7 separate regions of the Homo sapiens genome follow, and regions 1, 2, 3, 4, 5 and 6 are each linked to region 7. The links are contacts of gene promoters, found by promoter capture Hi-C in blood cells and fetal thymus (Javierre and others, 2016). All regions are on one chromosome and are shown on one strand. Each heading gives the region's core, a stretch centred on a gene start or on the middle of the fragment in contact. The rest is flanking DNA. Distances are from core to core; before and after follow the strand shown. Region 1 has its middle 12 kb from the start of ACP7. Region 2 has its middle 12 kb from the start of SYCN. Region 3 overlaps ACP7 (acid phosphatase 7, tartrate resistant (putative)). Region 4 holds the start of ZNF546 (zinc finger protein 546). Region 5 holds the start of NCCRP1 (NCCRP1, F-box associated domain containing). Region 6 holds the start of IFNL2 (interferon lambda 2). Region 7 holds the start of EID2 (EP300 interacting inhibitor of differentiation 2).

The links. Contacts are between HindIII fragments. The CHiCAGO score rates a contact against its expected background, and 5 or more counts as called.
Region 1: a fragment that was not itself captured here is called in contact with the fragment with the promoter of EID2 in region 7 in 2 of 17 cell types (naive CD8 T cells and total CD8 T cells); the score reaches 8.5 in naive CD8 T cells.
Region 2: a contact is called between a fragment that was not itself captured here and the fragment with the promoter of EID2 in region 7, in 2 of 17 cell types (M2 macrophages and neutrophils). The highest score is 8.1, in M2 macrophages.
Region 3: a contact is called between a fragment that was not itself captured here and the fragment with the promoter of EID2 in region 7, in 11 of 17 cell types (neutrophils, naive B cells, total B cells and 8 more). The highest score is 16.0, in neutrophils.
Region 4: the fragment with the promoter of ZNF546 here is called in contact with the fragment with the promoter of EID2 in region 7 in 3 of 17 cell types (total CD8 T cells, erythroblasts and endothelial precursors); the score reaches 5.5 in total CD8 T cells.
Region 5: a contact is called between the fragment with the promoter of NCCRP1 here and the fragment with the promoter of EID2 in region 7, in 5 of 17 cell types (M2 macrophages, monocytes, M0 macrophages and 2 more). The highest score is 7.5, in M2 macrophages.
Region 6: the fragment with the promoter of IFNL2 here is called in contact with the fragment with the promoter of EID2 in region 7 in 10 of 17 cell types (neutrophils, total B cells, M2 macrophages and 7 more); the score reaches 23.6 in neutrophils.

Annotation. Positions count from the first base shown.
Region 1 is chr19:39,070,310-39,073,559 of GRCh38, forward strand. No RefSeq gene overlaps it. Among named protein-coding and RNA genes, the nearest start is that of ACP7, 12 kb to the right of the region's middle. RefSeq lists an enhancer at 3,138-3,250. The HindIII fragment of the contact is 4,805 bases long and covers 1-3,250 here.
Region 2 is chr19:39,214,343-39,217,594 of GRCh38, forward strand. No RefSeq gene overlaps it. Among named protein-coding and RNA genes, the nearest start is that of SYCN, 12 kb to the left of the region's middle. The HindIII fragment of the contact is 6,255 bases long and covers 1-3,252 here.
Region 3 is chr19:39,107,182-39,110,258 of GRCh38, forward strand. ACP7 (acid phosphatase 7, tartrate resistant (putative)) reads left to right here. Exons shown (of 13, transcript NM_001004318.3): 13 at 2,872-3,077. The coding sequence ends at 2,937. Among named protein-coding and RNA genes, the nearest start is that of PAK4, 17 kb to the right of the region's middle. The HindIII fragment of the contact is 5,363 bases long and covers 1-3,077 here.
Region 4 is chr19:39,995,157-39,998,309 of GRCh38, forward strand. It overlaps ZNF546 (zinc finger protein 546), which reads left to right and starts at 1,904. Exons shown (of 7, transcript NM_178544.5): 1 at 1,904-2,001; 2 at 2,705-2,759; 3 at 3,092-3,153. RefSeq lists enhancers at 1,052-1,553, 1,539-1,718, 1,554-2,053, 1,726-2,020 and a silencer at 2,839-2,938. The HindIII fragment of the contact is 5,081 bases long and covers 945-3,153 here.
Region 5 is chr19:39,195,346-39,198,306 of GRCh38, forward strand. NCCRP1 (NCCRP1, F-box associated domain containing) reads left to right here and starts at 1,619. Exons shown (of 6, transcript NM_001001414.2): 1 at 1,619-1,974; 2 at 2,708-2,770; 3 at 2,857-2,908. The coding sequence starts at 1,638. The HindIII fragment of the contact is 37,818 bases long and covers 1-2,961 here.
Region 6 is chr19:39,266,467-39,269,706 of GRCh38, forward strand. IFNL2 (interferon lambda 2) reads left to right here and starts at 1,930. Exons shown (of 6, transcript NM_172138.2): 1 at 1,930-2,112; 2 at 2,211-2,392; 3 at 2,686-2,763; 4 at 3,022-3,171. The coding sequence starts at 2,103. The HindIII fragment of the contact is 23,103 bases long and covers 1-3,240 here.
Region 7 is chr19:39,538,307-39,541,552 of GRCh38, forward strand. It overlaps EID2 (EP300 interacting inhibitor of differentiation 2), which reads right to left and starts at 1,855. Exons shown (of 1, transcript NM_153232.4): 1 at 401-1,855. The coding sequence starts at 1,773. The coding sequence ends at 1,063. RefSeq lists a silencer at 1,560-1,639 and an enhancer at 1,611-2,110. The HindIII fragment of the contact is 1,343 bases long and covers 926-2,268 here.

The DNA of each region.
Region 1 (3,250 bases), core at 576-3,075, 470 kb before region 7:
TCACTCTGTTGCCCACGCTGGAGTGCAGTGGTATAATGATCTCAGCTCACTGCAGCCTTGACCTCCTGGGCTCAAATGATCGTCCCACCTCAGCCTCCCAAGTAGCTGGGATGACAGGTGCACACCACCACACCTGGCTAGTTTTTGTATTTTTTTGTAGAGACGGGGTTTCACCGTGTCACCCAGGCTGATCTCGAACTCCTGAGCTCAAGCAATCTGCCCACCTTGCACTGTGGCCTCCCAAAGTGCTGAGATTGCAGCTTGAGCCACTGCACCCGGCCTTTGTTTTGTTTTTTAAGTTGAGGAGAGTATGGCTGGGTGAACATGAACCACATTCTTCCTTTCTTTTTAACCAGAGACAGGGTCTCACTACATCACCCAAGCTGCTCTTGAACTCCTGGGCTCAAGAGATCCTCCCACCTCAGCCTCCCAAAGTGCTGGGAGCCACCACACCCGGCTCACATTCCTGTCTATACTTGACTTGCCTTGACCATGGCAGAGAGCCTGTTCTCCCTGCGAGACCTGCCATGGACCATGGCAGAGAGCCTGTTCTCCCTGAGTGACCTGCCATGGACCCAGGGGTATACTCGTTTCCCTCTAGTAACTGTGCTGCTGGGCCCACGCCTGAGAGCCTGTGGAGGGCTGGGGTGTTCCTGGAGGTAGGATACACAGAGCTGACCACACTCCTGCTGACCATGCACAGCGTGACCCACGCTTCAGCCCTGACAGATCCCCCAGTTGGTGGTGAGTCATGTGCCCTCTAGGACTCAACTCCTGTTCTCACCCACTGAACTCACGAGGAAGGATTAGTGTAGACCCTCAGGGAAGATCACACCAGATTTGATCTTGATATGACCCAGCTCATCCTTCACACAGCAGGGGCCAGGCTGCCCTTTCCTCACACAGAAGGATGAGCCTTGCTCTCCAGTGGGTTTTTATTTATTTATTTACAGACAGGATCTACCAAGGCTGGAGTGCAGTGGTGAGATCTTGGCTCACTGCAACCTCTGCCTCCCTCCCAGGCTCAAGTGATCCTCCCATCTCAGCTTTCTGAATAGCTGGGACCACGGGCACACACCACCACACCTGGCTAATTTTTGTATTTTTTGTAGAGACGAGGTTTAGCCATGTTGGCCAGGCTGGTCTCAAACTCCTGGGCTCAAGCGATCGGCCCGCCTCGGCCTCCCAAAGTGCTGGGATTACAGGCGTGAGCCACTGCGTCCAGCCTAATAAGATATTTTTTAAGGCAATTTTTTGGGGGGGACAGGGTCTTGCTCCGTTGCCCAGGCTGGAGTGCAGTGGCATGATCACAGCTCACTGCAGTCTCCTGGGATCAAGTGATCCTCTCACCTCAGCCTCCCGAGCACACCCCCGTAGGACTTTAAAATCTTCCAACACTCCTCAATGTGACTACAGTGGAAAATGGTGTACCCAACAATGGTACAATAAATAGTTGGGGCCAGGCATGGTGGCTCACACCTGTAATCCCAGCACTTTGGGAGGCCGAGGTGGGCAGATCATTTGAGGTCAGGAGTTCAAGAGCAGCCTGGCCAACATGGTAAAACCCTGTCTCTACTAAAAAAAAAAAAAAAAAAAGTCCGGGTGCAGTGGCTCACGCCTGTAATCCCAGCACTTTGGGAGGCCGAGGCAGGTGGTTCACGAGGTCAGGAGATCGAGACCATCCTGGCTAACAAGGTGAAACCCCGTCTCTACTAAAAAATACAAAAAAAAATTAGCCGGGCATGGTGGCGGGCACCTGTAGGCCCAGCTACTTGGGAGGCTGAGGCAGCAGAATGGCATGAACCCGGGAGGTGGAGCTTGCAGTGAGCCGTAATCGCGCCACTGCACTCCAGCCTGGGCAACAGAGTGAGACTCCGTCTCAAAAAACAAAAAACAAAAATTATCCAGGCATGGTGTCATGTGCCTGTATTCCCAGCTACTTGGAAGGCTGAGGCAGGAGAATCACTTGAACCCAAGTAGCAGAGGTTGCAGTGAGCCAAGATCACACCACTGTGCTCCAGCCTAGGCGACAGAGCAAGACTCTGTCAAAAAAAAAAAAATAATAATAAAATAAAAATAAATAAATAGTTGGGCCAATATTTATAAGAGCTCATGTTTGTTTGAGGGTTTAGTCTGTCCCTGGCCTCAATTCCGGATTTTATGGAACTGTTATGTCCACCTGATGATACAGTGATGCTTGGAGGCCACGTGCAGTGGCTCACGCCTATAATCCCAGCACGCTGGGAGTCCAAGGCAGGTGGATCGCTTCAGCCCAGGAGTTTGAGACCAGCCTGGTCAGCAAGGCGAGACTGTGTCTACAAAAAATTTTTAAAAATCAGGTGGGTGAGGTGGTGTGAAACTGTAGTCTCAGCTACTAGGGAGGTTGAAGTGGGAAGATCACTTGAGTCCAGGAGTTCGAGGCTGCAGTGAGCTATGATCATGACACTGCACTGCAGCCTAGGCAACAGAATGAGACCCTGTCTTAAAAAACAAAATACATGGCCAGGAAGGGTGGCTAACGCCTGTAATCCTAGCACTTTGAGAGGCCAAGACAGGTGGATCACCTGAGGTCGGGACTTCGAGACCAGCCTGACCAACATGGAGAAACTCCGTCTTGACTAAAAATGCAAAATTAGCTGGGCGTGGTGGTGCATGCCTGTAATCCCAGCTACTCAGGAGGCTGAGGCAGGAGAATTGCTTGAACCCCGGAGGCGGAGATTGCAGTGAGCCAACATTGCGCCATTGCACTCCAGCCTGGGCAACAAGAGCAAAACTTCATCTTAAAAAAAAAAAAAAGAAAAGAAAAAAAGACAAAAACAAAACCATGCTGGGAGATGACACAGGACCTGAGGCCTGAAATCCAGGATGAGATGGCAGAGGGATGAATCGGAGACAGTGGGGCCTGGTGGTTAAGGCCAAGTGTGCAGAAAGGAATGAATCTCAGGTTTTTTGTTTGTTTGTTTGTTTGTTTTTTGACACAGAGTCTTGCTCTGTTGCCCAGGCTGGAGTGCAATGGTGCAATCTCAGCTTACTGCAACTTCCACATCCCAGGTTCAAGAGATTCTCTTGTCTCAGCTTCCTGAGTAGCTGGGAACACAGGCGTCCATCACTATGCCTGGCTAATTTTTGTATTTTTAGTAGAGACAGAGTTTCACCATGTTGGCCAGGCTGGTCTCGAACTCCTGACCTCAGGCGATCCACCCGCCTTGGCCTCCCAAAGTGCTGGGATTACAGGCATGAGCCACCGCAC
Region 2 (3,252 bases), core at 180-2,679, 320 kb before region 7:
TAGTTTTAGTAGAGATGGGGTTTCACCATGTTGCCCAGGCTGGTCTTGAACTCCTGACTTCAAGTGATCCACCCACCTTGGCCTCCCAAAGTGCTGGGATTACAGGCATGAGCCACCATGCCTGGCCCTTTTCTTTGAGTTTTGCGTGCTGTTCTTTTCCTCACATTTAAGATAGATGGTTAGCTGGCTTATTTTCAGCCTCGTTCCTTTTCCCACATTTGTATTTAAGGCTTTACACTTTTTTTGTGGGATTGTTGTGTGTCTTACATAAGCAAAAAGTATAGTGGGTTGAGGTTATTTCAGGCACATGGAAAGTGCTCAGTGTGTTTACTGACATGGATGATGGTTTTGATTATTATTTAATTTATTTATTTATTTTGAGACAGAGTCACACTCTGTTGCCCAGGCTGGAGTGCGGTGGCGCGATCTCACCTCACTGCAACCTCCACCTCCCGGGTTCAAGCAATTCTCCTGCCTCAGCCTCCTGAGTAGCTGAAATTATAGGTGTGCACTACCACACCTGGCTAATTTTTGTATTTTTTAAAATAGAGATGGGGTTTCCCTATATTGGCCAAGGTGGTCCCGAGCTCCTGATGTTAGGTGATCCACCTGCCTCAACTTCCCAAAGTGTGATTATTATTATTCTTATTAATCAGGAGCTTTAGAGTCAGAGAAAGATTCAAGCAAGAAGTTTGGATTAATTATGAATCAGTTTCCTATTGCTGCCGTAACAAATGATTGCAAACAGTGCTTTACAACAACACAGATTCATTATCTCACAGTCCTGGAGGTTGGAAGTCCAAAATGAGTCTCCTTTGGCTAAAATCAAGGTGTCATCGGGCTGCCTTCCTTCTGGAGGCTCCAGGGGAGAATCCTGTTTCTTGCATTTTCCAGATTCTAGAGGCCACTTGCATTCCTTAGCTTGTGGCCCCTTCCTTGTTGAAGTCAGCAACAGAGAATCTTTAAATCCCTCTATGACTCTGTCCTTTTCTGCTGCCTGCTCTTCCACTTTAAGGGATCCTTACAATTACTCTGGTCCTACCCACATAATCCAGGATAATTTCCTTTGTTGTTGTTGTTTTTTGTTTTAAAGACACGGAGTCTTACTCTGTTGCCCAGGCTGGAGGGCAGTGGTGTGATCACCACTCACTGCAGTCTTGATTACCCAGGCTCAAGCAATCCTCCTGCCTCAGCTGCCTGAGTAGCCGGGACTACAGGTATGCACCACCACACCTGGCTAATTTTTGCATATTTTTGTAGAAACAGAATCTTGCTATGTTGCCCAGGCTGGTCTCAAACTCCTGGGCTCAAGTGATCCTCCAGCCTCAGCCTCCCAAAGTGCTGGGACTACAGGCATGAACCACCGCACCCAGCCTAGAGTCCATGTTTTTAGCCACTCAGCTCCAGGATACACTGAGCCTGGTTGCATAGTCAATTTCTTTTCTTTTCTTTTTTTTTGAGATGGAGTGTTGCTCTGTCGCCCAGGCTGGAGTGCAGTGGCATGATCTCAGCTCACTGCAACCTCAGCCTTCCAGGTTCAAGAAATTCTCCTGCCTCAGCCAGCCTCCCAAGTAGCTGGGATTACAGGCACGTGCCACCATGCCCAATTTCCTTATTTTAAAATCAATGGGACATGCGTGGTGGCTTATGCCTGTAATCCCAGCACTTTGGGAAGCCGAGGCGGGCAGATCACTTGAGGTCAGGAGTTTGAGACCAGCCTGGCCAATATGGTGAAACCCCATCTCTACTAAGAATACAAAAAATTAGCTGGACGTGGTGGCATGCACCTGTAGTCCCAGCTACTCAGGAGGCTGAGGCATGAGAATCGCTTGAGCCCGGGAGACAGAGGCTGTAGTGAGCCAAGGTCACACCGCTGCACTCCAACCTGGGTGACAGAGTGAGACTGTCTCAAAAAAATAAAATAAAATAATGATTAGTGACTTTAATTCCATCTGCAACCTTAACTCTTCCTTGCTGTGTAACATAATATATTCGCTAGTTCTGAGGACACCTCGGGGGGCTGTTATTCTGCCCAAAAATTAGTATTTTGTTTTACAAATGAGGAGTATTCTTGTCTTTCATATGAAGGGAGACAGCTACCAAGGCTGTCTGGGGCTCCAGTGTCAGGGCCCAGGCTCCTTCTGTCTTGTTGCTCCAGCATCAAATGTGGCTTTTTCTTGTGGCCCAATATGGCTGCTTGAGCTCCATCCTTCCCATCTACATCCCAGTCAACATGTGGAGGAAGGGAGGGAGGGAAGAAGAAGGAAATGCTCTTCCAGGAGCATGGTACATGACACTCCTGTCTACATCTTGCTGCCAGAACTTAGCTAGAGATGGGCACTCAATGCCTCAAAAAGATGGATCTAGGCCAGGCGCAGTGGCTCACACCTGTAATCCCAGCACTTTGGGAGGCCGAGGCAGGCGGATTACGAGGTTAGGAGTTCAAGACCAGCCTGGCCAAAGTGGTGAAACCCCATCTCTACTAAAAATACAAAAAATTAGCTGGGCATGGTGGCAGGTGCCTGTAATCCCAGCTACTCAGGAGGCTGAGGCAGAAGAATTGTTTGAACCCAGGAGGCAGAGGTTGCAGTGAGCTGAGATCGCACCACTGCACTCTAGCCCGGGCGACAGTGCGAGACTCCATCTCAAAAAAAAAAAAAAAAAAAAAAAAGATCTGGCCTTGGGTTAGCTGTATGCCTGGTCACAAATCAAATTTCCTATTACTGAAGGAAGAACAGATATTGAGGCCATGTCACAGATTGAAGGAATAAGAAGCACATTGAAGGGATGACAGAGTCAGAGAGGACATAGATGTCCAGGAAAAAGTGGAATCCAGCCTTTCTACAATCTGGGTACAGTAGAAAGAAGGGGGGTGTGGTCACTGATAATGGCTTTCAAGATATCCCGGAACCTGTGGGTGACCTTATTTGGCAAAAGAAACTTCACAGACGTGATTGAGTTCAGGATCGTTCAATCAGAGGTTGTCCTGGAAGATCTGGGTGGACCCTAAATGGAATCACTAGGCTCCCTAGAAGAGGGAGGCAGAGGAAGATTTGGCTACAGAGGAGGAGGCAAGGTGAGGATGGAAGCAGAGGTTGGAGAGATGTTATTTGAAGATGGAGGAGGCCACGAGCCAAGGAACGCAGGCCAACACTGGAAGCTGAAAAGGTCGGCTGAGCAGGGTGGTTCACACCTGTAATCCCAGCACTTTGGGAAGTCAAGGCAGGCAGATCACTTGAGGCCAGGAGTTCA
Region 3 (3,077 bases), core at 452-2,951, 430 kb before region 7:
CATGCCTGCAACACCTGCAATTTGGTGGGGCTAAGGTATGAGGATCGCTTGAGTCCAGGAGTTCAAGACCAGCCTGGGTACCATGGTGAGACCTAGTCTCTACAAAAAATACAAAAAATGGCCAGGCACGGTGGCTCATGCCTGTAATTCCAGCACTTTGGGAAGCCGAGGCAGGCGGATCACAAGGTCAGGAGATCGAGACCATCCTGGCTAACATGGTGAAACCCCTTCTCTACTAAAAATACAAAAAAAATTAGCCAGGCGTGGTGGCAGGTGCCTATAGTCCCAGCTACTCGGGAGGCTGAGGCAGGAGAATGGCGTGAACCCGGGAGGCAGAGCTTGCAGTGAGCCGAGATCGCACCACTCCAGCCTGGGCGACTGAGCAAGACTCTGTCTCAAAAAAAAAAAAAAAAAAAAAATTAGGCCAGGTGCGGTGGTTCATACCTGAAATCCCAGCACTTTGGGAGGCTGAGGTGGGCAGATCACTTGAAGTCAGGAGTTAGAGACCAGCCTGGCCAACATGGTGAAACCCCGTCTCTACTAAAAATACAAAAATGAGCTGGCCATGGTGGCGGGTGCCTGTAATCCCAGCTACAAGGGAGGTTGAGGCAGGAGAATCACTTAAATCTGGGAGGTGAAGTTTGCAGTGACCCAAGATGGCACCACTGCCCTCCAGCCTGGGAGACAGAGTGAGACTCTGTCTTGGAAAAAAAAGGAAAATTAGTCAAGTGTGGTGGCAGATGTCTGTAGTCCCAGCTACTTGGGAGGCTGAGGCAGGAGGATCACTTGAGTGCAGGAGTTAGAGTTTGCAGTGAGCTATGATCTCGCCTCTGTACTCCAGCCTTGGCAACAGAGTGAGACCCTAACTCAAAACAAAAAAACGAACAAATGTGGACTGTAGAACTAGAAACCTGCTCCTGCTGCTTACCAGCTGAGTGACCTTGAGTCACTCATCTAATTTTTTTTTTTTTTTTTTGAGATGGAGTCTCGCTCTGTCACCCAGGCTGGAATGCAGTGGTGCAGTCTTGGTTTACTGCAACCGCCACCTCCCAGGTTCAGGCAATTCTCCTACCTCAGCCTCCCGAGTAGCTGGGATCACAGGCGCCCACCACCACACCCGGCTAATTTTTTGTATTTTTAGTAGAGACAGGGTTTCACTGTGTTGGCCAGAATGGTCTCGAACTCCTGACATCAGGTGATCTGCCTGCCTCAACCTCCCAAAGTGCTGGGATTACAGGTGTGAGCCACTGTGCTGGGCCCACTTATCTAACTTCTTTGCCTCAGTTTTCCCATCTGTGAGAGGGGATAATCATAGTTTCCACCTCACAGGACTACATGGGGGTTGAAGGACTTATTATATATAAAATGCTTAGAAGAGTGCGGAACTTGGTAAATTCTGTAGGTATTTACCATTGTGAGGCAGGGGAAGATAAAGATGGGGGGTGGGACACAGGTAGGGGAAAACAATAAGATGAGTATGTGGTACAGGTGGCTTAAGGTTAGGTGGATCCAAATAATAATGGCTCACCTTTCTTTATTTTTGCCATTGTAGTTTTAAAATAATGACAATATTTATGATTTATTGAGCACCTACTGCATACCAGGCACTGCCTAGATGCTCTGCATTTAGTAGCACTTTATTTATTTATTTGTTTTTGAGACAGAGTTTCACCCTGTCGCCCAGGCTAGAGTGCAGTGGTGCAATCTAAGCTCACTGCAACCTCCACCTCCCAGGTTCAAGCAATTCTCCTGCCTCAGCCTCCCGAGTAGCTGGGATTACAGGCACATGCCACCACACCCGGCTAATTTTTTGTATTTTTAGTAGAGATGGGGTTTCACCATGTTAGCCAGGCTGGTCTTGAACTCCTGACCTCAGGTGATCCACCCACCTGGGCCTCCCAAAGTGCTGGGATTACAGGCATGAGCCACCGCATGCGGCCCCAGTAGCACTTTATACACCAAAACAATCCCACAGGAGTGGATTTCCTCTCCATTTTATAGGTGAGGGAACTGAGGCTCAGAGAGGGGAAGTAATTTTCCCAGGGTCACACAGTTGGAGGACGGCCAAGCTGGGATCTGATAGCTACCATTTATCGAGTGGCACATGCACCGGGCGCAGACTTTTGTGTGCATGATCTCACTCTGTTCTCATGATGACTCTGGGCATCTATTACTTTGTGCATTGCATAGAACATGGAAGTTTTGCTCAGAGAGTCCAGCAACATGCTTAAGGCCACCTAGAGGGTGGATGCGCTGGCCAGGTGCAGCAGCTCATGCCTTTGGGAGGCTGAGGCAGGCGGATCACTTGAGGTCAGGAGTTCGAGACCAGCCTGGCCAACATGGTGAAACCTTGTCTCTAGTAAAAATACAAAAATTAGCCAGGCATGGTGGTGCATGCCTGTAATCCCAGCTACTTGGGAGGCTGGGGCAGGAGAATGGCTTGAACCTGGGAAGCGGAGGTTGCCACTGCACTCCAGCCTGGGTGACAGAGCAAGACTCTGTCTAAAAAAAAAAAAAAAAAAAAAAAAGGAGAGAGAGAGAAAGAGTGGATGTGCTGGAATATAAAGCAAGGTCTGTCTGACTCCAGAGTTTGTGCTCTAATAATAGCCTACACTTACATAGCCCTTTCCATATGCTGGGCTCTGTTTACAAATACTATCTCATTTAACTCCCACAACATCTATGATGTGGGTACTGTTACTCTTCCTATCACTTTTCAGATGAGGAAAACTGAGGCCCAGAGAGGCCTAGCCACTTGCTCAGGGTTGTACAGCCCATCAGAGGGCAGAGAGGGGACTGGAACCCAGGCCATGTGGCCCCAGAGTTCAGGCTTTCAGCTCTAACTACTGTCCCTGTTTTTGTCCCTCACAGGATGGGAAGATCGTAGATGATGTCTGGGTGGTGAGACCCCTGTTTGGCCGGAGGATGTACCTCTAGGGATGGCGGCAGCTCTCCTCCAGAAGCCTAGGTTTTGCCGCCTTGGCTGCTGTGACCAGAAACTGCCCAGGCCTGGGTGGGGAGTTGGGTGGGCCCTGACTCCCCTGCCCTCCAGAGGCCCCATGTAGGGTACATGCAGC
Region 4 (3,153 bases), core at 654-3,153, 460 kb after region 7:
ATTTTCTATGTTTGTACTAATTTACATTTCCACAAATAGTGTACAAGTGTTCCCTTATATCCATACCCTCACCAACCCTTGTCGTCTTTTGTCTCTTTGATTACAGCTATTCTAACACTGTGAGGTGGTATCTCAGTGTGGTTTTAATTTGCATTTCTCTGATGATTAGTAATGTTGAGCATTTTTTCATATGGACACTTTTTTTTTTTTTTTTTAAAGATGGAGTCTCACTCTGTCACCCAGGCTGGAGTGCAGTGGCGCGATCTAGGCTCACTGCAACCTTCGCCTCCTGGGTTCAAGCAATTCTCCTGCCTCAGCCTCCTGAGTGGCTGGGATTACAGGACCCACCACGCACCACCACACCCAGCTAATTTTTGTATTTTTTTAGTAGAGACAGGGTTTCACCACGTTGGTCAGGCTGGTCTCAAACTCCTGACCTCACGATCCGCCCACCTCGGCCTCCCAAAGTGCTGGGATTATAGGCATAAGCCACCGTGCCCAGCCTTATATTGACACATTTTTAAGGGATTTGGGGGGGGGCAGGGGTTCTTTGCAACAATGTAAACATCCAGTCCCTCATCAAACTTTCAATTTTTTTTCACGTACTAATTTATATCAGTTTGGAATTATGATTCCCTCTGTTATTTAATGGGTTTTAATCTATAACTAGCATTATTTATTTTGATGCTCAAACCATGTCAAGTTTGGTCAGTGGAAGTCCCTTCAATCTGGTTTCCATGTCCTTTGAACACGTCCCCACCATTCTTTGAGCACTGCCTTACTTTCAAGCACAAGATGTTCCAAGTTCATTCTGAACTTTCCCTTCCCCAGCTCTGGAATCTGCCATTTCTCCATGGAGCCTTGCTCCTTTCAGTGGAGCATGGTATTTAGGAACCAAGGGCTGACTGCCTAATGTGCTTTCCAAGTATAATTTCCTCAGTCCAAGCTTTTCAAATTGATCTGCCAAAGACCCATTGCCAAAGATCCATTGCCAGAATATAAGAGTGGAAGGAAATTCTTAATATTTTTTGAAAGTTACTATTATTTTCATTTTTCTCTTTGTAAAAAATTCATTTAATTCAATATAAAAAGACAAAAATCTTTGGCACATAAATCGCAACTCTCTGATGCAAATGTTTAAATAAAGCTGATACTCCAAGAAGACGCAACATATTCTCTTTATCCCACAGACATATAGGCCTATGGTTGCAAACTTTTATACACACACAGAGTCACAATTCCACTGGCACCCGTGATGTTCCACATCCAGATTTTCCAAATCACACATTCTCATCTTCACATAGCCTTGCCGGCAACCACACGGCATAGTACCACATTGTTACGTCAAGCACAGCCAGTCTACCACAGAGCCTGTCGTCCCATTGACCAAAGTCACAAAAATCACAGCCCCGGGTATTTACTGTGGTTTTCTCCAGTCAGATCCCTTCACTCACTACACACTGACTCACACTCAAATTACACACACGCGGAAACACAACCCGCCAGAGCCAGAGAGGTTCCGTCGGTCCCGCAACCCTCACAGTGCCACACACACGCGCTCACAAGGCAAATACAAATGGCCAGGCACTCATTCTTTACAATACACATATTAAGCGCCTATTATGTACTACACGCCGGGACTACCTCAAGAGGTGAAACAAACAAAATCCTGCCTGGCGGAGCTATCGCCCAGTCCCGCACGCACTCGGCCTCAGGGTCACACTCGGCGGTCCCACGCTCAAGTGGCCCGGCCAGTGGCCCAGAGGCGTCTGTTCTCCTCCTCAGCTTCCTGCGTGGGTTCCTGGTAAGTGAGTCGAACCCGCCGGATGCGCGCGCGCCTGCGCCTCCGCCCAAAAGGATCAGTTTCCGGCTGTGGACTACATTTCCCAGAAGCCCCTTGGGCAGTGTTGCCTGGACCCCAAGGGCCCTTTACATTGCGTTCTTAACGGTTCAGTCACCTTAACCGTTATTATTCACTTGCGGGCGAGAAGTCCGAGCTAGGTGAGGCGGAACGGGACTCTTACGAGTAGGACTGGGGATAGAACTGCCGCCCAAAGTGAGGCGCTCCAGGGCCCAGACCTGGCGTGTCGTGCCCGCAGGGAGCCTCAGGCCTGTGCGTGCTTGGGGAGCGGAGAAGGGAAATTGTGTGACAAAATGTGGCAGACGGTGTATGTGTGTGTGTGCGCGCGACGGGGCGCCTGTCAGGACCGGGTTGGGCGGGTGTGGGTGCGGGTGTGAGGCTGAGACAGGTGCCTGGCTCTCTGGTGTGTGTCACTGACCCTCTACCCTCCTCACGGCCTCGGTGTTTGCACACAGCAGTGTCCCCAAGAGGGAAGTCAAATATCGAGCTCTGGGATGAAGGTTCCCAGCAAGAAGGTACAGACCTGGGTTGGCGATTGGACTTTTGAATTAGAAGTGTCCCTAAAACAGACTCCTGGGACGACAGGTTGGAAGACTGCGCAGTTGGAGCCGCTGTGTGGGCAGCTGCATGTTTCAGAACCACTGCATTCCCATACCTTTGATCTAGAAACCTGGTGTGAGTTCAGAGACAGATCCCAGCCTCACTCTCACACAGCTGTTATGTGCGTGAGGTCAGCACAGATGTGGCGCTGGAGGGGATATTCTAGGTCGGTCTGTGCTCTTAAGAAAGGCCTGCTGTCTCATGATTATTTTTCTTCCCCCATTCTGCTATTCATCAAAACAGGGATCCTGAAAAGGAGGGAACAATTGTTGTAGCAGGTCTAAAAGTTCAGGTCCAGGTAAGTTTATATTTCCTTTTTATTCATAAAATGGAAATCACACATTCTAATCCTCACACAGCCTTGCCTGCACCCAGTCATACGGCGTGGTACCACACTGCTATGTCAAGCACAGCCACAATCTACCACAGAGCCTGTCACCTCATTGCTCACAGTCACAAAAATCACATCCCCAGGTACTTTCTGTAGCTTTCATTTGCATTTTTCCCTTTGAAGAAGTTCATTTGATTCAATCTAAAAAGACTAAATTATTTGTCACATAAATTGCAACTCTCTGGTCTATATCTTTAAGTAAATCTTTAAATAAATGCATAAAATGTTTTTGTTTTTAGGAAATGGAAACATTGCTTTGCTTTTCCTGAATTGTCCAGTGACCTATCCCAGGCCTTCCTTT
Region 5 (2,961 bases), core at 369-2,868, 340 kb before region 7:
GGCAGGAAGTGCCTGTGAAAGCATGTGGAGTTATCTGGGACTATATGGGACCCAGCCTGGGAAGGCAGCTTCTGTTTCCATGGCACCCCTCACAGGGTTGTTGTATTGGAAAGACCCGTCCCAGAGGGCATCCGCCAGCACACAGCTGCACACACATGTTTGCTGTTACTTTTCCTTTACCTATAAAATGCCAGTCATAGTAGCACCCACCTTGTCTTTGTAGGAGAATGAAATGAACTTAGAGGCGCTCAGTAGAAAGCACTCACGCCTGTAATCCCAGCACTTTGGGAGGCCAAGGCAGGTGGATCACTTGAGGTCAGGAGTTTGAGACCAGTCTGATCAAGAGGGTGAAACCTCGTCTCTTCTAAAACTACAAAATTAGCTGGGTGTGGTGGCACATGCCTGTAATCCCAGCTACTCGGGAGGCTGAGGCAGGAGAATCACTTCAACCCGGGAGGCGGAGGTTGCAGTGAGCTGAGATCGTGCTTCTGCACTTCAGCCTGGGTGACAGAGTGAGACTCCATCAGAGAGAGAGAGAGAGAGAGAAGCAAGCGCTCAGTGCTGAGCTTACCTGGGCCAGGTAGAGGGATGTGGCCACGGGCAGGAAGTGGCTGTGGGAATCTGGCGCTACAGGTTCCTCTGCCACCCCACTTCCTCCACACCTGACCTCCTGTCCCCACCTGTGCCCCGTCCCTTGCTCCCACCTCCTCGTGACCTCTGATGGGGGAGGCTTCTGCAGCCCCCCACCCCAGTCCCAGGCAGGGGTGCAGGCCCCCAGAACACCCAGTTGGGATCACTGCTTCCCTCTCACTGCCATCTTTGTGCCTCCCTGGGGTCCCCCATCTCTGAGGCTCCTCATCTCTGGTTTTGGGTGTCTCTCTGCTCTCCTCACCTTGGTTTTCTGGACAGTATGTGTCAGGGCCCCAAGGGGGTGTCCCAGGTGAGGACAGAGAAGGAAGTGGCAGAGGCAGGACCTTCCCTTTGCACCTCAGCTCATCCATCCACTCCCCCTCTGCAGAGTGGGGAGGGGGAGGAGGGGGGTCTTCGTTAATTAGCCTCTTAATCCTGCCATGCTGGATCTTAATGAGGTGCACGGGTCCCATTAGACAGCCCGGAGCCCTGGCATTAGCACATTAGTCACACGCTCTGTCAGGCTCACGCTGGGTCCTCAGCTGGCCCTGGGAAAATTGGGGCAGGAAGTCTGGGGACCTAAGGAGGGGGCTGGTGCCTGGACTTCTGGGTCTGAAGAAGGAGGGGCTGGTGCCTGGACTCCTGGATCTGAGGGAGGACGGACTGGGGGCCTGGATTCCTGGGTCTGCGGGAAGAGGGGCTGGTGCCTGGACTCCTGGGTCTGAGGGAGGAGGGGCTGGGGTCTTGAATTCCTGGGTCTGAGGGAGGAGGGGCTAGGGGCCTGGACTCCTGGGTCTGAGGGAGGAGGGGCTGGGGTCTTGAATTCCTGGGTCTGAGGGAGGAGGGGCTAGGGGCCTGGACTCCTGGGTCTGAGGGAGGAGGGTCCGAGGGACAAGATCCTCCCCCGACACGCCCCTCTCTTAAATGTCAGCCAGGGTGCCCTGCCCCTTCCCGCTCCCAGTTAACCCCAGCCCTGTGAAACCGGGACAGTCGCGCAGCCTCGAGGGATGGAGGAGGTGCGTGAGGGACACGCGCTCGGTGGCGGGATGGAAGCCGATGGGCCCGCGAGCCTCCAGGAGCTGCCTCCCTCGCCACGGTCGCCTTCACCGCCGCCGTCGCCGCCACCACTGCCCTCGCCGCCGTCGCTGCCATCGCCCGCAGCCCCGGAGGCCCCCGAGCTCCCCGAGCCGGCGCAGCCGTCCGAGGCTCACGCCCGGCAGCTGCTGCTGGAGGAGTGGGGGCCGCTGAGCGGGGGCCTGGAGCTGCCCCAGCGCCTCACCTGGAAGCTGCTCCTGTTGCGGCGGCCGCTCTACCGCAACCTGCTGCGCTCGCCCAACCCCGAAGGTGCGCAAGGGCCCAGAGCAGCCAGGAGGCACCACCCTGACCGTCTGTCTCTTCCTCTTTCCCTGTTTCCTTATCTCTCTACCTCTTTGTCTCTCTCTGTCTATGCATTTCTCTGCATCCCTCTGTCTCTTTTTCTGTCATTGTGCCTCTCCATTTTACCACCTGTCTCTCTGTCATGTCTCTTACCTACCTCTCTCACACCTCTCCCTCACACCTCTCCATCTCTCTTTCTCTCTCCTCCTCTCTCTCTCCCCCTCTGCCTATGTTTCTGTCTCTTGAGACGGAGTCTTGCTGTCGCCCAGGCTGGAATGCAGTGGTGCAATCTCAGCTCACTGCAACCTCCGCCTCCCAGGCTCAGGCAATTCTCCTGCCTCAGTCTCCCGAGTAGCTGGGATTACAGGCATGCACCACCATGCCTGGCTAATTTTTGTATTTTTAGTAGACACAGGGTTTCGTCATGTTGGCCAGGCTGGGCTGGTTTCAAACTCTTGGCCTGTCTCTTTCTCTGGGTTCTTCTCTCTGTCCCTCTGTCTCTGTCTGTCTCACCACACCCCACTTACCCCTGGCATTGCCCTCTCCCCAGCCCAGAGCCCTGACTCACTCATCCCTGCCGGGCTTCCCTGACCTGGCACAGATTCCTGCCCTTCCAGTGTATAGCCCTGCGGGTAGGGAGGGGTGAGGCGGTGGAAGATGGAGGGGCTGCCCAGAGGCTCCACTCACCTGTCCATTTCAGGCATCAACATTTATGAGCCAGCACCCCCTACTGGTCCCACCCAGCGACCCCTGGAAACTCTGGGTAAGTGCTTGGAGGGCCAGGTTGCTGAGGGTGGGGAGGGTCCTCCAGCGTTGGGGTGTCCTAACCCTTTGCTCCCCAACCTGCAGGCAATTTCCGTGGCTGGTACATTAGAACTGAAAAGCTCCAGCAGAACCAAAGGTGAGTCGCCAGGGCCAGTGTGGCTTACACTCCATTCCCTGCTCCACCCTTCC
Region 6 (3,240 bases), core at 680-3,179, 270 kb before region 7:
AAAAAGAGGCCGAGCCAGGGACTCAGGTGGCCTGAGGTTCAGTTCTGACCCTGCCAGTTAATTACAGTGGAATTCAGGGCAAATTACTTTTCTGAGCCTCTGTTTCCTCACCTATAGGATGGGTTAGCATACTTGCCTTGTGGAGGAGTAGTGTCCGTTGAGATCACGTTTTAAACTCTCCAACTGAGGTCCTAGTATGGTCTTAATGAGTGGATTCTATTAAATAATCACTCACATAAATACACAAACAATTGTGTTATTAATTTTTTCTCCAAATCTGTGCATTAGCAATCTGCGTTGCTGAATGCACCCCTCCTTGCCAAGGTCACACGGCTAGTGAGGGTCAGAACCAGGTTTGAACCCCAGACCCTTCATCTCCAAGACCCATGCTCTTCACCACTGCCTGAACTTCCCTAAGAAAGACGGCACCCACGTGGTGTCCTTCAAGTCCTTCGTCACACCTCAGTTCTTGAGCAGAGCCTCATATTCCTGAGTCCTTCCTTGCCTGGGCAATTAAGAAATATTGGCCTTGGCTGGGCTCAGAGGCTCATGCCTGTAATCCCAGCACTTTGGGAGGACGAGGAAGGTGGATCATGAGGTCAGGAGTTCAAGACTAGCCTGGCCAGCATGGTGAAACCCTGTCTCTACTAAAAATACAGAAATTAGCTGGGCATGGTGGCACATGCCTGTAATCCAAGCTACTCAAGAGGCTGAGGCAGGAGAATCACTTGAACCCAGGAGGCAGAGGTTGCAGTGAGCTGAGATGGTGCCTCTGCACTCCAGCCTGGGCAACAGAGCGAGACTCCATCTCTCTTGCTCACTCACTCTCTCTCATGCTCTCTCTCTCTCTCTCTCTCTCTCTCTCTCTCTATATATATATATATATATATATATACACACACATATATGCCTCTGGCCGGGCGCGGTGGCTCACGCCTATAATCCCAGAACTTTGGGAGGCCGAAGAAGGCAGATCACGAGGTCAGGAGTTCAAGACCAACCTGGCCAATATGGCAAAACCCCGTCTCTACTAAAAATACAAAAATTAGTTGGGCGTGGTGGTGCATGCCTATAGTCCTTTCTACTCGGGAGGCTGAAGCAGAAGAATCCCTTGAACCAAGGAGGTGGAGGTTGCAGTGAGTCGAGATCACGCTGCTGCACTCCAGCCTGGGCTACAGAGCAAGACTCCATCTCAAAAAAAAAAGAAAAAAGAAAGAAAGAAAGAAATCATGGCCTCTGGGCACAGTGGCTCATGCCTGCAACCCCAGCAATTTGGGAGGCCAAGACAGACAGATCACTTGACGTCAAGAGTTCGAGACCAGCCTGGCCAATTGGTGAACTGTCATCTCTACTAAAACCATAAAAATTAGCTGGGAATGGTGGCACAAATCTGTAATCTCAGCTACTTGGGAGGCTAAGGCAAGAGAATCGCTTGAACCCAGGAGGTGGAGGTTGCAGTTAGTCAAGATTTTGCACTGCACTCCAGCCTGGGTGACCGAACAAGACCCTGTCTCAAAATATATATATATATATATGCCAGGAGGGGTGGCTCAGGCCTGTAATCTCAGCACTTTAATAGGCTGGGTGAGGAGGATGGCTTGAGCCCAGGAGTTTGAGGCTGCAGTGAGCTGTGATCATGCCATTGCACTCCAGTGACAGAGTGAGACCCTGTCTTAAACAACAACAAAACCAGAGCAGGTGGAATCCTCCTGGGAACATACCTTCCTGTAGGTTACCCCTGAGTCTCCATCAGTTTCTCTTTCCCTCCAGCTGCTCATCTGGCTCACTAGCCCTGCCCTGCTCTGGGCTTTCCCAGCCTGGGGCTCCCCTGGTGGCCGGTGTCTTACCTGAGGCTGTGTTTTCACTTTTCCTACATCAGCTGGGACTGCCCTTCTGTCAGGGATAAAAGCTGCCCCATGGAGCTCAGGCAGGAATTACATCCCAGACAGAGCTCAAAACTGACAGAAAGAGTCAAAGCCAGGACACAGTCTGAGATCCAGAAGAGGGGACTGAAAAGAACAGAGACTCCAGACAAGACCCAAACAGACCCTGGGTGACAGCCTCAGAGTGTTTCTTCTGCTGACAAAGACCAGAGATCAGGAATGAAACTAGGTGAGTCCCACATCTCTGTCCGTGCTCAGCTCCTGCAGCCCCTGCCCTCAGTGGGCAGCCTCTCCATCCCCTCAGCTCCCTTTCTCTCTGTGACACAGACATGACTGGGGACTGCACGCCAGTGCTGGTGCTGATGGCCGCAGTGCTGACCGTGACTGGAGCAGTTCCTGTCGCCAGGCTCCACGGGGCTCTCCCGGATGCAAGGGGCTGCCACATAGCCCAGTTCAAGTCCCTGTCTCCACAGGAGCTGCAGGCCTTTAAGAGGGCCAAAGATGCCTTAGTGAGTCTCCCCCTGCCCTCCTGCCATGGACTAGCCTCCACCCCCACTCCAAGCGTCACCATGCTTTCCCACTCCCAGCTTCCTTCACTGGGCTAGCCTCCACCCTCCCTGCAGTGGGCTATCTCATGCTCCTACTGTAGGGACTGACTCATGTTTTCCTGTAGAAGAGGGTCCTCTACCATCCTCCCAGCAGTTAACCTCCCCTATCCTGTTGTCAGCCATCCTCCAATCCCACCAGGATGGTCTAACCTCCACCCCTCCTGCTGGGGCTAACCTGTGCCTTTGCTGTCTAGGAAGAGTCGCTTCTGCTGAAGGACTGCAGGTGCCACTCCCGCCTCTTCCCCAGGACCTGGGACCTGAGGCAGCTGCAGGTGAGAGGGGGAGTCAGGCCCACCCCTGCTCTCCCAGCCCCACTCACCTGGCTCTGTAGTGGCCCCTTCACCGTCTCTTTCTCCCTTGTCTCTCTCTCTTCTCCTCACACCTGCTCTCCCTTCCCTCCGCTCCCACCTGACCACACTGGCTGTGCCCTCTCCCCTGTGCCTGTCACCTTCACTTGTTCCTCTCTATCCTGCTCCCCAACCTGTTCCCCTCACCTCCCCCCTCACCTGCTCTTTCTCACCTCTCCTCAGGTGAGGGAGCGCCCCATGGCTTTGGAGGCTGAGCTGGCCCTGACGCTGAAGGTTCTGGAGGCCACCGCTGACACTGACCCAGCCCTGGTGGACGTCTTGGACCAGCCCCTTCACACCCTGCACCATATCCTCTCCCAGTTCCGGGCCTGTGTGAGTCGTTGGGGCCTGGGCACCCAGGTCTGTGAGCTCTGAGCAGCGTCCTTCCCCTTGCCAAGGCCC
Region 7 (3,246 bases), core at 605-3,104:
CACATGATATACAAGATGAACTACTCTAGCAATTGTACAAGATGAACTACTCTAGCAATTTTTTATTCTGCCCAAAGAAAGAGATGGGAAACAACCTAAATGTCCGTCAATATATCCCTGGTTAAGTAAATTTGGACATAACCTCAGAATGGAATAAAATGCCACTTTAAAAAATAATGAGGAAATACAGTGGTTTGGAAGGGTCAACATATGTTCTTAATGAGAAAGCAATGTATAAACCAGTAAATATAATATGCCGACTTCTGTGAAGAAATAAAACAAGTAAACCCAGATTTATATGTGCCTGTGTACACGTAAGGAAACTAGAAGGACGGAAAGGAAACTGTGGCTATTAGAGGTCATCGTTGGTACTGGATGGAGGAAAACAAGAATGGAAGGCTTTTCGCTGTATATTTTATATATTTTTTGGCTTGTGAATAGATTTTTTAATACCAAAAAAACTTTAAAAATTAAAAATTGAAAGAAAAAAGTCCAGAAATTTGACGTTCTTGAAAACATGATTTATCACATAATATATACATTTACTTTGCTTGTCACTTGAAATGCCTAAGAAAACACAAAATCAATCTTAAACTAGAAACTTCTATTGAATATGACATGAAGAGAGCACATATTCCGACAATTTCAAGTTCTTTTCATAGCCTTCCAGTCCTAATAACTCAGCGTTAACATCTTATTCTGTTCAGCACTATTTGATAATTTCTTTCATCCTCATGGGCTCTAGTATTGATGTTTCATCAGTCTCAATTTTATAAAACCATCCTTTACTTTGTAATAAAGCAATGCTGAGAGACATTTTCCATAATGCAGGGGGAAAAATGTGGATCAATCACAAACTCAAAGAACGTTACAGTTATAATGCTTTCGACATTTTTTTCTACTTCTGTGATGCTTTTTCAAGATAAGCTTCCCCCTCCCCCTTTTTTTCCCCTCCACCTGTGCACTGTCTTATCGCGATATACTCTTGACTTCTGAAAATCAAGTTGCAGGATTGGTATGACTGGAATGCAGAGGTTCTCTTGAAGTAGTGTCACCACATAACTATTCTCTATTGATAAACTTATCGCAACCAAGTTCTTCTATCAGAGGGTTGATAACTTCAGAGGCAGTCAGAGCTATCGTAAAGGTTAAAATATCGAGGTCCACCCTGTGAGGATTTCGCTGATATTCGGCATCAAACGCTGCTTCCCTTGCTCTGCAGGCTTCCACGAATCGCCTGCGGCGTTCTTCAAGCTCTTGTATTCTGCCGGGAGCAATCGGGTAATTTTCCAGATAGTGGCGGAGAAACTGCTGGTAATTGATGCCTAAAACGCTAAGTGGGTGGCGGAGACGGAGATAGGGCAACGCAGCCAGGCCTCCGTTCCCGTGTCTGGACCTGGGCCTGCCCTCGGGACCCTCTTCGTCCACTGGCTCCCCCAGCAAGCGGGCGACCTCCGCCATCCGGGCTTCCCTGGCCGCCGCCGCCGCCGGGCTTTCCCTGCCCGCCGCGGCTGCCCTGGCCAACGCCGCCGCTGCCACCGGGGCTCCCCTGGCTGCCGCCGCCGGGGCTGCCCTGGCCGCCGCCATCCGACCTTCCCTGGCCGCCGGCACCGGGCCTCCCCTGGCCGCCGCCATCGCGCCTTCCCCGGCCTCCTCAGGCTGTGCCGGGGCCGGCTCCCGCCTCCCGCGGCCTACCTCCGCCTGCGGGACGTCTCTGTCACCATTCGCCGCGCCTGTCTGCGGGACACTGCTGTCTGCGGGCAGCTTGGACATCTCAGACCGTGGGGTCAACTCGGCTGCTCCCAGAGAAACTGGAATAACTGGACAGAGCGATGCCCGGCGGACACCCCAGTGCGCGTGCGTGGGCGCTATGCGCGCTGTAAATGCAGTGTGCGTAACCGGGCGCGAGAGCATAGATTCTTACCGCAAACCCTGGGAGCAGTGCGCATGCGTACTTTCCCGGCGCCCGCCGTTCTCCAGATGCCCCCTCGAGGCCGGGAAGCGCCAACGCATCTGAAACATCCCAACGACGAAGGGCGGGGGACATTTCAACCAGTTTGATGTTTATGAGGAACGCTTACAAGATCGCTTCTTGTAGGCGTTCTCAAGGTTCTGTCCTAGGGTGTTTCTCTTTGTTCTCCAGTGATTATGTGCCACCTCTATTATATATCAAGATATTTTAGATTCATGGTCTTTTCTGGATTTTTAAATTGTTTTTCATTCATTCCTTTGCCTGTCTTCATCCATACGGATCGTCCTAGCTACCAAAGCTTTGTAATTACAGTCTTTTCGTGTTATCTTTAACATTGCATTGACTACCTTGGACATTTGTTTTTCGAATCTTATTTGTGCAATATAACATGCAGAAAAGTAAACAAAACATAAATATACAGCTGAATGATTTATCACAAAGTGAACATCCGTTTAACTACCACACAGTCCAAGAAGTGGAATATTTCCAGCATCCCAGAACCCTTCCTCTTCTTCTTATCACTATCCTTTCCTTTCTACGCAGAAGTAACAACTATGCTGATACTTATGGTAATCACTTTCTTGTTTTTCTTTTCATTTTACCACCTAAGGGTGCATTCCTAATGCTGTAGTTTAGTTTGGTTTGTATTCTGAACTTTATCTATGTGAGAAACACACTCACCTGCGTAATTTTTGTATTTTTAGTAGAGACGAGGTTTCACCATGTTGGCCAGGATGGTCTCGATCTCTTGACCTCGTGATCCGCCTGCCTCGGCCTCCCAAAGTGCTGGGATTACAGGCGTGAGCCACTGCGCCGGCCACTTTCTTCCCTTTTATGGGCTGACCCCGCCTCTACATTCTGTTCCCTTATTGTGACCTTCTAGGTGGATGAGCCCTGCAGTTTGTTATATTTGCAGGCTGGCTGCCAGTACTTAGATTTATCATGCCTCAGAAATGGACCATTTAAAATGTTTTCTCACATACACACTTGTATCTGTTTTTTTGTGCATTATTTTTATGAGATTCATCCATTCACATTTTCTCTTCCTCCCTCCCTCCCTCACTCCCTTCCTTCCTTCCTTCCTTCATTCCTTCTTTCTTTCATCTCATTCTGTTACCCAGACTGGAGTGCAGTGGCACAATCACAGCTCAACGTGGCCTCAACCTTCCGAGCTCAAATAATCCTCCCACTTCAGTCTCCTGAGTACCTGGGACTACAGGTGTACACCACCACACCCAGTTAATTTTTAATTTTTTTGTAGAGACAGGGTCTCC